2 separate regions of the Homo sapiens genome follow, and region 1 is linked to region 2. Evidence: promoter capture Hi-C in human tissues and cell types (Jung and others, 2019). All regions are on one chromosome and are shown on one strand. The core of a region is centred on a gene start or on the middle of the fragment in contact, and the rest is flanking DNA. Distances in the headings are between cores, read along the strand shown. Region 1 overlaps NALCN (sodium leak channel, non-selective). Region 2 holds the start of CLYBL (citramalyl-CoA lyase).

What was found. The method cuts DNA at HindIII sites, captures the fragments that hold promoters and counts their contacts. A contact is called where the count stands out against the background at its distance.
Region 1: a fragment that was not itself captured here is called in contact with the fragment with the promoter of CLYBL in region 2 in 1 of the 25 tissues and cell types used here (dorsolateral prefrontal cortex).

The regions. Positions count from the first base shown.
Region 1 is chr13:101,128,616-101,132,188 of GRCh38, reverse strand. The region is part of intron 17 of NALCN (sodium leak channel, non-selective); the gene reads left to right. Among named protein-coding and RNA genes, the nearest start is that of LINC00411, 190 kb to the right of the region's middle. The HindIII fragment of the contact is 3,814 bases long and covers 1-3,259 here.
Region 2 is chr13:99,605,190-99,608,712 of GRCh38, reverse strand. CLYBL (citramalyl-CoA lyase) reads right to left here and starts at 2,023. Exons shown (of 9, transcript NM_206808.5): 1 at 1,956-2,023. The coding sequence starts at 2,017. LOC105370332 (a long non-coding RNA gene) reads left to right here and starts at 2,864. Exons shown (of 3, transcript XR_931674.3): 1 at 2,864-2,951. RefSeq lists a silencer at 1,683-2,242 and enhancers at 1,964-2,258, 2,181-3,160. The HindIII fragment of the contact is 17,148 bases long and covers 1-3,523 here.

The DNA.
Region 1 (3,573 bases), core at 103-2,602, 1.5 Mb before region 2:
AACTTGTGGGAAGTAGCTAATGGCATTTTTAGAGGAAAAAATTTAGCCCTGAATGAATATCTAGTAAAGAAATAAAGGCTTAAATTAATCCTCCAAGCATTCATTTCAAGAATTTAGAAAAATTATCAACCAAGGAAACACTAAGATAGCAGAAAGAAAGAAATAATAAAGAGAAAAGCAGTTATTAATCAAATGGGGGGAAAGAGGTGATAAATAATATCAACATAATTGAAATTTTGTTCTTTGGAAGCAGTAATAAAATTGATAAATCTACTTTAAAATTCAACAAGAAAAAATTAAGGAGCCTTCTTCTATAAAGATGACAGAGGCATTGACATTGTTTTTTAACCTTGAATTCCCACATGAAAACAAAAAGAATACCAAGATATCAAAACCCCAAATCCATAGTTAATATTTACCATAAAACTCGGTAATCCACAAACCCTAAATAAAAGCAAGTGTTGACAAACAGCCACATGATTTGCATGATATTAGTGTCTGTGGGAGGAAACCAAGCTTAGTTACAGAGCGTCCAATGTTCATGGAATGGTAGAACATCTTCTTTGCTCCATTCTGAAATAAAAAGTCCAGGAGTGGAATCAAAATTGAACAGGCCAGGAACAAGAGTGATAAGGATAAAAGCAGATCCAGACAAAATTTGTGGGGGGAGGAGGATTGGGAAACAGAGCTTGGAAATTCCAGAAAGAAAGCTACCATATTTGATCGATATATTAAAACAACAGAAGAGGAAACTCTGAAGTTAGAAGAGAAATACTAAACTGTTTGGGAAAACTAATTTTGTATAAAAATGAGTAAGGAAAATTATCAAAGCCAAATTCCCTGCAAACGTTATTATAAGAAAAAAACAGCAGAATACTGTCTCTCACTGTAGACAAGGAAAGCAACCTACAAAAACGTGCTCTAACCAGCTCAAACTGTAGCATACTATTGAAAAATTAGTTAAAAGACATTAAAAATTACATAAGGATGAAATAGCAACATAAATAAAAGTTAGAAAAACTCAGAAATGAGGTGCCAGAACTGAGAAAAGTTATAAATTAAAGCAATGAAAACTAAACGAGAAGGAACATAAAGAGACCTCAGATGATTCAAAAGTGAGAAATAGAAAATGGAGAAGAGGGCATTTTTTAAAATCAAAGAGAAATGAAGAAAGAGATGAAAATGATTTGCAAGAAAAATGACAAATTGAAGAAAGTCAAAAATCCGACATCTGCATTATAGGTGTCCCTAAGGAAGAAAAACCACAGCAAGAGAATAAAACGTATACTAAACTTTTCTGAAACATAAAAAGATATGAAACTATATATTGACAGCACACACCTAAAAATATTGGAGTAAATGATTAAAAACAATACATACACCAGACAAATGACAGGTCTTTAAATTTTTTAAAAATATATTATCTAGCCCAAATAAGAACAAGTGATTTATAAAGGAAAGAACGTTAGATTATCATGAGATTTTTCAGCAGCAATGCTTTATGTCAGAAGAAAATAGAGTAACATATATAGGATGCCCAGGCAAAGAATATCTGAGCCAGATTTTTTTCCATCCTGAAAACTGACTTTCAACTTTCAAGGTCAGAGAAACTGCTTTCAAGATCTAAGAATATGAGTAATGTAAGATACAAGTAATCTTGTTTCAATGAACCTGTAATCTACTAAAAAACATGCCTCAGATAACCTAAATGAACTCCAAAAGGGACTCTTAAACCATTTGGCATAAAAATTCACATTCATATGTAACAACTAACTACATAAGGACAACATGAAGAGTGAAATATGTAATAATTATTTGTTCTAATATGGATAGAGTACAGATATACAAATGAGGAGGTGAACGGGAAGAAGATATGCAAACCCTTAAGATATTCAGTAGTTTTCTTGGTTGTGTATTTTCATTCTGAGACTATTGTCTATGAAATGTGAAATAAAACTGAGTCACTGTTGAGACAATCTAATTCTGGCATCCCTGGTGCTCTTGATAATCAAGAGTGCTCTTTGTGGAGAAAAAAGGAGATATAGATATCATATAGAAAAGCTTAGGTAAAAATAAAAATCCTAAAGAAAACGTGGCACGTATACACCATGGAATACTATGCAGCCATATAAAAGAATGAGCTCATGTCCTTTGCAGGGACACGGATGAAGCTGGAAACCATCATTCTCAGCAAACTAACACAGGAACAGAAAACCAAACACAGCATGTTCTCAGTCATAAGTAGGAATTGAACAATGAGAACATATGGGCACAGGGAGGGGAACATCACACACTGGGTGCTATCGGGGTGGGGGGCAAGGGGAGGGATAGCATTAGGAGAAATACCTAATGTAGATGACGGGTTGATGGGTGCAGCCAACCACTGTGGGACATGCATACCTACGTAACAAACCTGCACGTTCTGCTCATGTACCCCAGAACTTAAAGTATAACTAAAAAAAAAAAAAAAAAATCCTGGGTCATGAATTTAAATTGAAAACATCAGAATAAACCCAGGCAAAATATTTGAAACAGTGACCAACTCCATAGCAGTGAGCATCTATGGGCTCTAGATATGTTCTTGAAACACCATTTTTCCAATTTTCCAATAAGTAAACCAGGGCTTCTTGAAGAAAATGGTTGATTTTGAATAGGAAGTGTACAAGCTGACCTTGGAGCATCTTGTCATACTAGGAACAAGGAAGCTTTGTCAAAGACTACGAGGGTCATATAAAAAGAACCTACAGACTGACCAACTTGAAAAACTCCCAATGAGCACAGTAGAGATAATTTGACTAACAGTAAGAAATGGTAATTGACATGGACTGAAATCCATTAAACATTAAATAAGTTTAAATCTTGAGTTCATAATGACATTTTTTAAATAGTAATTGGTTACCTTGAGCGATGATAGAAAATCAACCATGTAAAATTAATAAGTAAAAGTCGATAATCAAGCATTTATCTTGGCTTTTCCATACCAGTTTTGCTACTGGGTAACCAAATAATACAGGAGGGAAAGCACCTCATTATAAAACTATCCCAACTAATAAATGAAAAAGAAATGACAGTTTTGCAAACGGAATGAAGTCAAGGGATCTAAGAAATGAACATCAAGACCCGTAACATCACAAAAAGAAACACACACACTCTGTTCCTTTCGATGGAAGAATCTGACACCACCTATGGCCTTGCCAAAGGGATGAAACCAGAGTCTGTATGATGAAACCTCTGGATCCAGCTGCCGATTTTCAGAAAATAGAAGACAGAAGAACGTGTTGAACTGTACCAAGAGTGTGCTTTCAGCAAAATCCAGACTCTCTCTTGGCTGGGTGCGGTGGCTTACTCCTACAATCCCAGCATATTGGGAGGCCACGGCAGGAGGATCACTTGAGCCCAGGCATTTCAAGACCAGCCTGTGCAACATGAAGAAACCCCATCTCTTAAAAAAAAAAAAATGTTACTTAGCTATATGTGATGGCACACGCCTGTAGTCCCAGCTACTCAGAAGGCTGAGACAGGAGGATCGATTCAGCCCAGGAGGTCAAGACTGCAGTGAGTCATGATAATTCC
Region 2 (3,523 bases), core at 774-3,273:
CAGCGGGTAGACATGTCGAGAACAGACCAGTGTGCTAAGGCGGGTGAGGAGCACTGAGTTAACCCCCAGCGTACTGGCGTGGGGACTGTGTGCGCTCACTGGACCCGCTACTGAACAGGTCACAGACGCTGGCCCCCTCAAAAGGCGCCAGAAAAGGACCCTTCTGGACCAGCCTGGATACACTGCCTGAGCTGCTCCTCTAGGGCGAGGGGTGACTCCCCTGTGCCAGGGGCAGCGGAGGAAATGGGAAAGTGGGATGCATAAGACTAGGTGGGTCCTCCCATAGGACATGGGTGACTGAAGAGTCACAGTGCAAGAAGACGTAAGAAGTTCAGACCCAGGCCGGGCACGGTGGCTCACGCCTTTAATCCCAACACTTTGGGAGGCCGAGGCAGGTGGATCACCCGAGGTCAGGAGCTCCAGACCAGCCTGGCCAACATGGTGAAACCTCGTCTCTATTAAAAATACAAAAATTAGCCGGGCATGGTGGCGGACGCCCTGTAATCCCAACTACTCCGGAGGCTGCGGCAGGAGAATCACTTGAATCCGGGAGGCGGAGGTTGCAGTCAGCTGAGATGGCGCCATTGCACTCCAGCCTGGGCGACAAAAGCGAAACTCCATCTCGGAAAAAAAAAAAAAAAAAAAAAAAAAGAAGTTCCAGACCACCAGGCCGGCCATGGTGGCTCACGCCTGTAATCCCAGCACTTTGGGAGGCTGATCCGGGTGGACCCCCTTGAGGTCAGGAGTTCGAGAACAGCCTGGCCAACATGGCGAAACTCTGTCTCTACTAAAAATACAAAAATTAGCCAGGGGTGGTGGTGCACACCTGTAATGCCAGCCACTCAGGAGGCTGAGGCATGAGAATCGCTTGAACCCAGGAGGTGGAGGTTGCAGTAAGCCGAGATTACACCACTGTACTACAGCCTAGGTGACAGACCGAGACTCTGTCTCAAAAAATAAAAATAAATAAATAAAGAAGTTCCAGACCAGGAGCCATACACTTAGTGTTTGAACCAAACTCTCTCATTACTGGTCATAGGGCTTTGAGAATCCTTAACCTTTCTGACCCTGTTTTTTCATCTTTATAAACATGACACCCAACTTCTTCACATGGTGGTCAAGGGAACCAAATGAGACCATGTATGTGCACGTACCTAGGCGATGGGCAAGTGCTAGACCAGCGGTTCTCAAAGTGTGGTCCAAAGACACCTGAGGGGGTCCCTGAGACCCGTTGAGAGGGTCTGCTTGGTCCTCCCTTTCCCAACTAATATCTGCATCTGCATGAGCCCAGAATTTCTTTCAAATATTTCCTTCAAAACAGCTGATATGAGACTCCAGCTGTCCTTTATTAAACCAAAGAAATTTTCAAAAATATAAAAACCATGAGCCAATCTTCTCACTTTTTTTTTGAGAAGTTATGCATTAAAGTGTTATTTGTATTAAAAGTTAATGGGTTTGTTATTAAGTGAATATTTTTTAAATTTCTGGTTTAATTCCTCATGCACAAAAATCAATAGATATAAGCAAAAGCTTTGGGGGGTCCTCAAATTATTTTTAGACGTGTAAACGGGTCCTGAGACCAAACCGTTTGGGAACCGCTGTGTTAAACGAACCGCAGGTGTTCTTCACCAGGCAAGCCGCCTCTCAAAGACTGGCGCGTTCACGTTTGCCATTTGGGGGAGGCAGGCAGTTTTGTTTCCTGGGGCTGAGTCCAGGTAATTCGACCTAAGGTGTGTACCCATTTTCCGGGTGCAACGAGGGCCCTCCCAAAGGGAGGCGCGGGCGGCAGCGACCTTGGACGAGGTCGAGCCAGCGCGTGGGAGGCGCATGGTGCTTCCGTCCGGCTGGGTTCCCGTGAGGGCTTGGGGAGGCCGCGCCCGGCCCGCGGGGCTGCAACAGGAGCCGACCCGCGGCGAGCCGGGCCGGGAAGGCGGGGAACGGGGACCTGCACTCACAGCCTCAGCAGCGCCGCCGCCGCAGCTCCGCGCGCCGCCCTCCGCAGCAGACGTAGCGCCATCTTCCCGACGCGCGCGCCCCGCCCTTTGCCTTTAGCCACGCCCACCCCACATTCCACGCCCCCACGGCGACACCGACCCCCCCCCCGTCCCAGGCCCCGCCTCGCTCTGTCTTCGCCCCGCCCCGTCCCGCCAGCCACACCCCGCCAGCCACGCCCTCCTTCCTCCCAGCACCCGCTCCGCCCCGCGGCGAGTCCCGAGGTCAACTGCCCTCCCGGCCAGGGCTTAGGACCTTCGTCCCCGCTGTCATGGGGGACAGAGCAGAGGATCTGAATGGTTGGGGCCTCTTTGAGGGGCCTCTCTGGTGACCGAATCCAACTCTCTGAGCTTCTGAGTTTTTGAGGCAACTGTTGACAGACTGCGTTTTCCCAGCCAGAAGAGCCAACATTTCTAGGGATTTCTTCGCAGCTTTTGTTGTTAAAATACCGCCTAATACTTTGTGAGCCCCATCATGTGCATATCTTGGTTAGCAATTAATCTAGAGTGGTCAAAGTGCAGGAAGGCTGCATCCTGGAACACACATGCCTGCAATAGGTCAGAGCAGCTGTTGGCACTCTCTGGGCAGGGAAACTGACAGCAGCTCTTTACTCTGCCCCCTGCAGCCGTTCTGCAGCGGTGAGAACGCCGAGGCGTTAAAACAGGCTGGGCCCTGCCCCTGCCTCTTCTTTCACCTTCCCTGATCCAGCCGGCCTCCACCTGCCGACCTTCACCTACCCGGGCCCATGTTACCCCTTAACCATGTCTTTTCCTTGGCACTCGGCATGTTTCTTTTTCAGCTGTGACTCCGTTCCATTCATGCTCTAGACTTAAACCTGAAACCGTTTCTCAGAACCTTCCAGTGGAAGCTGACTTGTGCTCTTGGATGCAAAAAGTGGCCGTTTAAACAAACAAAAGCCTTTTCAGCCAGAGGGGGTTCCAAGATTTGGAAAAGTCCAGGTGACTGGGAACATGGATGCTAAACTTCTGCTGAGCCTAAGAATTATTGTTATATTCGATACCAACAGGGGAGACTGCTCAACCCCTTGGTGCCCTCCCCCAGCTCCCACGCCTGCTCCACCTCAGGCCTCGCCTGTCTACTCCAATTTGGTCACTTTCTTGTCACCACCTTAGTCCCAGCCAGTGCCCGGTCCAGCCATACTGAAGCCTGAGGCAAAGGCAATTTCAGTAACACCAATCCTGTCTTTAATTAAAATTTTGATATTTTGTTCATAATGGGATTTTTCCATTATCTTGGTTTTTAGTTTAGAATATTACTTTTTTTTTTTTTTTGAGACAGTCTTGCTCTGTCGCCCAGGCTGTAGTGCAGTGGCACGATCTCAGCTCACACACTGTAACCTCCACCTCCTAGGCTTGAGTGATTCTCACCCCTCAGCCTCCTGAGTAGCTGGGACTACAGGCAAGTGCCACCACTTCCAACTAATTGTTTTGTATTTTTAGTAGAGATAGGGTTTCACCATGTTGGCTAGGCTGGTCTCGAACTCGTGGCCTCAAGTGATCCATCCGCGTCA